Linked DNA regions of Homo sapiens: region 2 is linked to region 1. Evidence: promoter capture Hi-C in 16 types of primary human blood cells and fetal thymus (Javierre and others, 2016). All regions are on one chromosome and are shown on one strand. Each heading gives the region's core, a stretch centred on a gene start or on the middle of the fragment in contact. The rest is flanking DNA. Distances are from core to core; before and after follow the strand shown.

Region 1 (3,808 bases), core at 418-2,917:
AGGTGCCCCACCATTGCCATGCCTCTGTGTCCTCCAGAGTATTCGGTGGTACAGGTCCAAGGGATGGATGCCATGGAGATAAAGTCCCTGGCCCAGGGCCCCCCAGCCCGAGGGGCAGGAGACCTTTCCATGCCTCTGGGATGTTTTTGTTTATTTCTAACTCTGAGCTCCTTCTCTGTGGGGGAGGAGCTTCCCTTTCCATCTCCAGGGCTACTGAGAAAATGTTGGACAGAGGAAGGAAGGCAGGGCAGGGCCAGGCTGCAGCTAGCATCTGGACTGTTGGCTAATGCTGGTGATGGCGCAGAAGACCCTTGCCCCCTTTTACAGCTTCTCCCCTAGAAGCCTGGCCCAGATGCCTGAATTCCCACCTTTCATGCACTTAGCCCTGGGGCTTGCAGTTTTGCCAGGTCCTTACTGCCTCCTCCCTCCTGTGGCCTGCCCGGAGGGGCACACAAGCAAAGCCAGTGCCTCTGTGGACAGGCAGCTTAAGACATTAGGAGACAAATGAAGGAAGGAGGCAAAACTTCCAAGGCCGGACTATCTCCTCTGGACCAGAGTTTCGGCCTGCTGGGAATGGAGTCACCAGCCCCGGGGGGGCTGACAGGTGGCTCCCGCCTACAGAGCTGTAACTCATCCCTGCTGCTGAACAGGAAAGGGCCTGCCTTACCCAGATCCCATCCTCCGGAAAGGGTTAGTCAGGCAAGTGTGCTGAGAGGCCCCTGGGAACCTCGTCTCGATTAACCCATCAGAAAGCAGCCCATCCTTTGCACCCAGCTCTCAGATGGAAAAGTGAAGCCCAGAAGGAAGGGACCTGACACGGAGGCTTCCTTGGTAGCATTTCAGTCTCAAGGGAAGAACTGTGGGCCTCCCCTGGAGCACTGGTGAAGTAAGGGGTTGGTTTGGATATTGTCTCCTGACTGGGATATGGGCAGGACTGACAGGGAGCTGGAGTCCTAACGAAGCCTGGGCTAGGTGCAGGAAGAACCAACCCAGTGGTCTCCTGACATCTCCCACGCCCCCACCGCAGCTGGGTCACCTCCAGAATACGGAGGAGAGAGCTGGAGGTGGAGGAACTAAGGACCTTCTTTGCCAGGTGGGGACTTAAAGGTAAGGCGACGATTACTTTTCGGCGATGGGGGTGGGATGGAAACAAAGCCCTTTGAGGTCTGGGGCAGCCTCTGGTGGCGCGCGCGGGTTTAAGTGGTGGCGGGCCGCGCCCGATCCCTGTCCTGGACCTTCACCCTCTCCTGAGGGCCTGGGCGGGCCGCCCAGCGCCAGCATGGCCTCCTTGGAGGGGCTCCCGCAGTGCCCGCAGCGCAGCTCCGGCTCCTCCGGAGCCTCTGTTCCGCTGCCTCCCTGCGGGCACCATCTGTCTGCTCGCCGGGGTGGGCGTTCTGCCTGCCCCCTGCGTCTCAGTGGAGGACCGAGCCTTCCGAGCCAAGCTGCCGGTCCAGGAACTTGCGGACCGCGCCGACCCGCTGCTTCTGCCTGCGCATCCACGCAGGTGCCCCTGCCTGAGCCCTAGGTCGCGCGCTATCCTCACCGGCTTCCTGGGCGGTCCCCTCCACCTGTTGCTTCAGGTCCTGCAAGCCCTTGCTTGCCATGGCTTCGGGGTATCTGTGGAGTCGTCAAGAGCAGCTGGAGCGACGTTGGATCCTGCCCAGAGTGGCGATGCCAAGCGCCAGCTCCGGTTTTTAAGGCGCCCCAGGGCTGGCCTGCCCCGCGTAGGGGAGAGGGCGCGGGGCGGTTCCCGTCATACAGGCTCCGGGGAGTGGCCGGGCCCTGCTCCAGAGTCCGCAGGGCAGGGAGCACATCCTGGCCTAAGACGGGCCGCGGTGGGAAAGGGGCAGACCGAACCAGGGACCGAAGAGGTGCCAGGACAGGGGTCCAGAGAGGAGCTGGAGGCAGGAGAAGGGCGCACACCACCTCCCAGCTCATCAGCCCCAGCCCTCCCTTTCTGATCCTGGGCGTGAGCGCTGGGTCAGCTCCAGGGCAGGAGCTCAGGGCTGGTGTTGACCTTAATGACAGCAGTGGTCTTTTACTGAGCATTTGTCTTGTGCCAGGTGCTGCCTAACGCTCTGCAGTCTCTTGTATAATCTTTACAACCACCTCCTGAAGTGGGTATTTTTGTTGATAGCATCAGTGTATAGGAGGAAACTGAGGCAGTGAGGTCGGTCTCACCCAAACGCATGTGGCAGGGACTTGGATCCTCGAATCTGCCTAGGTGCCTGTAAACCCTAGGGCTCTGGCATCATCGGAGCCCCCAGCCCCAAACAGCTGCAGGGGCACTGCTGACTGGCTCTCTGCCTGTAGCCAGAGACCCAGTGGATGCAGCCGGAGAGGGCCTGGTAAATCTTTCCCCTGAGAGGGCGAGATACAGGTGTGTGCACTTGCAGACCATGCAACCCCAAGGGGGAGAGGGCAGTGTGCCTGTGCAGCCCAGGCAAGGAGATTGCCGTCTGTCACCGAAGCCTTAGGAAGTTGGGCAGGAAGCATGGCTCAGGGAGGGCAGGAATAAGCTTGGGCCTCTCAGGTCACCTTTCCTGAGATGGGGCAGGCAAGGCGCTAGAGAGTATGACTTGTGGCTGTTAGGAGGGGACTTAGGGACCTGGGCCTGAGTGGAGAAGATCATCCTTGGGTGCAGCAAAACAGCTTGCAAGATACATTCCCCTGGCACACAAGGGGTGTAGGTCAGGCCCCACCCAGCTGGGTATACTCCCACTCCAGAGTAGGCCTTCAGGACCTGGAGGCCAGTGCACACCCACCCTGCCTTTCTGGGTCTCTCTACCGCTTCCTGTCCGGGGCTGTTTCTTGCACCTCTGCTGGTGTCTCCCCTATTCTGGAGCGCTGGGAAGCCCCTGCCACACAGGCTTGGTCTGCTGGCACATACCCTGCTTCTAGTGCTGCGGGGTCAGCCCCTAGAGGGAGTTGTTTGGAAGTGCACCTGTACACACACACACACACACACACACACACACACACACACACACACACACACGGTATGGATTAATGGAGATGAGGTCAACCCTGGGCAAAGGGAAGAGGCAGGTGATGAGATTAGGTGGAGGAAGGGGGAGGGAGCAGGTCTCAGGCAAAACAAAGCGGCAGCAACAGTCCTCCCAGCCCCCCGCCCCTCCTCTCCCAGAGCGAGGCCTTGCCCTGGGAGCGGCCATATGGATGCCTTGGGGACTCTGGGGAGCCCATCTCAGCCATGCCCTGCCTGGCTGGCCACAGCCCTGCCAGCCCTCCTGAAATCCCACCGGTAGTGCCCAATAGCCAGGCAGGCCTTCGAGTGTTCCAGTTTATCACAGGCTGGTGGTGCCACTGGGCTCCAGGCCCCATGGGCAATGAGCTGTGAGCTGGACAGGAAGGGAGCAGCCTCTGTGGGAAGAGACAGCCAGCCCCCAGCAGATGGTGGTAGAGAGAGCTCCACGTGGCCCTAGCGGCAGGCACTACAGTCAAACCTCTTGGGTTCAGATATTCTTAGAGCAAGCCCCTCACTTCTCTGAGCCTCAACATCCCCATCACATCACAGCGTCTCCCCAAAGTGTGTGTGTGAAGATTAAATTGGCTGAAGGGTGCCCAGGACTCAGCAGTGGACCTTGTGAGAGCGTGCAGGGCACCAGGGCTTCTCAGACAAGGAGAGGCAGAAGGAGGGAGCGCATTACCGCATTACCGTTTCCCCCACCCCCGCCCCAGTTTGCTGTGGTGTCACTTTTTTTTTTCCCTTTTTTTGTTTTTGGAGACAGAGTTTTGCTCTTGTTGCCCAGGCTGGAGTGCAATGGCGGGATCTTGGCTCACTGCAACC
Region 2 (3,557 bases), core at 250-2,749, 92 kb before region 1:
AGGACTGAGGACCTGGTGGTGTACTTAACACCACTGCCATTTATTGATTGATTGAGATGGAGTCTCACCCTATTGCCCAGGCTGGAGTGCAGTCTCGGCTCACTGCAACCTCCACCTCCCAGGTTCAAGTGATTCTCCTACCTCATTCTCCCAAGTAGCTGGGATTACAGGCACGGACCCCATGCCTAATTTTTGTATTTTTAGTAGAGACGGGGTTTCACCATGTTGGCCATGGCTGATCTCGAACTCCTGACCTCAAGTGATCCACCTGCCTCAGCCTCCCAAAGTGCTGGAATTACAAGCGTGAGCCACCATGCCCGCTCATCACATTCTTAAACAGAGAATTTTATTGTTGAAGAGAAACCAGTTAGTACATTGTTTCTTTTGGCAAAAGAATTTTGAGAATTGCTTCTAAATAAACAGAGTATGGATTTACATTGGTCAAAATATGACTCTTGCTGTCTATACCAGGACTTTAATTTTTGTGTTATGGGTAATTGTTCTTCACAGGGATTTGGTAATGTGGGCCTACACTCTATGAGATATTTACATCGTTTTGGTGCTAAATGTATTGCTGTTGGTGAGTCTGATGGGAGTATATGGAATCCAGATGGTATTGACCCAAAGGAACTGGAAGACTTCAAATTGGTATTAATACATTTTTATAGCATAGACACTAAATATAAATATTTAAAACTCTGGTGCAGCTATTAATTGTGATTTTCAATCAATGGCAGCAACATGGGTCCATTCTGGGCTTCCCCAAGGCAAAGCCCTATGAAGGAAGCATCTTGGAGGCCGACTGTGACATACTGATCCCAGCTGCCAGTGAGAAGCAGTTGACCAAATCCAACGCACCCAGAGTCAAAGCCAAGGTGACAACATTATAGAAACCAGAACCAACATTATCAATGTGAATGACGTTAGGGGGGTCATAGAAGAGTCTGATTGAGTTTTCTCTTTCTTTTTAGCAGCTTTATTGGCACATACTGCACATACCATACAGTTCCCCCATTTAAGGTACATAATTTAATGGCTTTTAGCTACCGGCACAGAGTTGTGCAACCATTACCAAAACAAACGCATCTGCCTGACACTCCTGTAAAAAAAAAAAACAAGCAAACAAAAAAAAAACCTAGATAAATAGAAAAGTGAAAGGTAGTTTTATACACTTGGCAGAGAAAAATAACCTCTATTTAACTTTAACTGAAACTGTGCTTCTCCCCACAGCCCCTTGTTCATATATGCACATCTCTTGCCCTCAGTGGAGGGGATTTGACGGTGGTGTTCGCATTTCTCTATGTTCCTGACTCTCTTGCAGATCATTGCTGAAGGTGCCAATGGGCCAACAACTCCAGAAGCTGACAAGATCTTCCTGGAGAGAAACATTATGGTTATTCCAGTAAGTCATCTATATTTATTAGGCTTTATATGTACTTAGAATCATAATAGTCTTTTGCAAGGAATTTGGAGGAAGAGAGGAATTATTAGTCTCCAAGCTCTAGTGAATTCATCTTTTTCACTTTTGAGAAAATATAGTAGAAGCATGGTTAATTCTAAGCCTGTTAATTTTCACTTTGATCGAAACATTTATTCCAATTTCAGGCTCTTTACTGAATGTCTTTAGCCTTCTAAGAGTCTGGTTATATAAATGTGTACTGTGTTAGAAACACTATTCTAACTAAAGCTCTTAAGATTTTCTATATGATTCCTAACCTTATGCATTTCAAGTGCCCTTTCCAGCTTTACTCAGAAAACTAATATGAGGAACACGTGCTCAGGTTTTTTAGCAAGTAAAAATGAGTCTACACCAAAAAGTTACTAGAAATTAATGTGGGCTTGGAATATATTTTAAAGAACCCCCTTTGCTGAAAGCACTTAAGACATTTAATGTAACTGAAATGGGCTACCCTTAGGTAATAGGAGAAAGAATCCTGTCTTCTGAGAGGCCCTGTGGACAGTCCAGTCCAACTGGTTGGTGGGCAAGCCATTTAGTCTGAGAACTAACTTCTGGTAGAGAAGAGGCTCCAACCAAAGATTATTAACTTTCCTTGATTAATAAGCCAAAAAATGATTTTTTTTTTTTCCTAAATAGAAAAAGCCTTAGATGGAATTGGGTGGGATGGGAAGGAGTGTTAATTAAGTGTGAAATTCCTGATACTGGCTAAAATATATTTGCGATATTTAAAGTCCAGTCTACCTTGGTATTGAAATTAAGGTCTTAGGTTCATTTTCAGCTTTTACGAAAACCATCATCTTCTAATTTCTTTGTCTTATTTTTGTGCATAGGATCTCTACTTGAATGCTGGAGGAGTGACAGTATCTTACTTTGAGTGGCTGAAGAATCTAAATCATGTCAGCTATGGCCGTTTGACCTTCAAATATGAAAGGGATTCTAACTACCACTTGCTCAGTGAGTATCGATAATCTTGTTCGCCAAAACTCATCTTTTGAGCCAGCTGAAAGGCTGTAAAAAGGTCCACTTAAGAGAACTGATCCCTTTGGGAAAGAATTGAGTCTCAGAAAAGAAAATAATATTTTGTCTCATGAAACTTAGACCAAAAATGCACAATGTCTTTCTGGATATTAACTCTCCCATATATTATATCCAGAGTTTTATTCTGTGATGTAATATTCACAGAATATAATCTACATTTTTTTTTTCTTTTTTTGAGAGGGAGTCTCGCTCCGTCGCCGAGGCTGGAGTGCAGTGGCACGAACTCGGCTTACTGTAGCCTCCGCCTCCCAGGTTCAAGCAATTCTCCTGCCTCACCCTCCCAAGTAGCTGGGGCTACAGGCACTCACCGCCACGCCCGGCTAATTTTTGTATTTTTAATAGAGACGGGGTTTCACCATGTTGGCCAGGATAGCCTTGATCTCCTGACCTCATGATCCGCCTGCCTCAGCCTCCCAAAGTGCTGGGATTACAGGCGTGAGCCACTGTGCCCAGCCAATAATATTTTTTTAAGTGTGATTTTAAAACTCCACTGTCGATACTAATTTCTGTCTCTGGTTGCTCTTAGTAAAGGCCTATCTAGTGTCAAGAATTGTTTTTGAGACTCCTGATGAGAATACTTGTTTTTCTTTGACTAGAGTAAGCTCCACAGTTAAGAGTAGAATTTCTCATCTAGTTGAAATAAGACCAAGACCTCCTACTGAGCTTCTGTACTCAGCCCACTGTGAGAATCTGGGTGAAGTGTTCCATCTATTTCCTTTTCTTTTTCCCCCAGCGTTTTCTTTTTAATAGAGCCAAGGAAAAACCCTGGTAATGGGTGTTATGGAAACAGAGCAGTGACCTAAATTCACATTTATATAGGAAATTGGCAATGTGTTTTATTCCTTCCTGACTGAGTTTTAAATGATTAACCCTTTTATGTCATTAAAACTCTGTATAAGGCCAGGCGCAGTGGCTCACGCCTGTAATCCCAGCACTTTGGGAGGCCAAGGCAGATGAATCACGAGGTCAGGAGGTCGAGACCATCCTGGCTAACACGGTGAAACCCCGTCTCTACTAAAAATACAAAAAATTAGCTGGGCGTGGTGGCGCGCACCTGTAG

What was found. Contacts are between HindIII fragments. The CHiCAGO score rates a contact against its expected background, and 5 or more counts as called.
Region 2: a fragment that was not itself captured here is called in contact with the fragment with the promoter of ADIRF in region 1 in 1 of 17 cell types (M2 macrophages); the score reaches 6.9 in M2 macrophages.

What each region holds. Positions count from the first base shown.
Region 1 is chr10:86,966,341-86,970,148 of GRCh38, reverse strand. ADIRF (adipogenesis regulatory factor) reads right to left here and starts at 1,667. Exons shown (of 3, transcript NM_006829.3): 1 at 1,544-1,667. The coding sequence starts at 1,604. ADIRF-AS1 (ADIRF antisense RNA 1) reads left to right here. Exons shown (of 2, transcript NR_170185.1): 1 at 1-1,107. RefSeq lists enhancers at 1-721, 2,228-2,980, 2,961-3,140, 2,981-3,734 and a silencer at 563-857. The HindIII fragment of the contact is 3,661 bases long and covers 1-2,521 here.
Region 2 is chr10:87,058,006-87,061,562 of GRCh38, reverse strand. It overlaps GLUD1 (glutamate dehydrogenase 1), which reads left to right. Exons shown (of 13, transcript NM_005271.5): 7 at 511-648; 8 at 738-875; 9 at 1,322-1,402; 10 at 2,290-2,413. Among named protein-coding and RNA genes, the nearest start is that of GLUD1, 35 kb to the left of the region's middle. The HindIII fragment of the contact is 5,304 bases long and covers 1-3,557 here.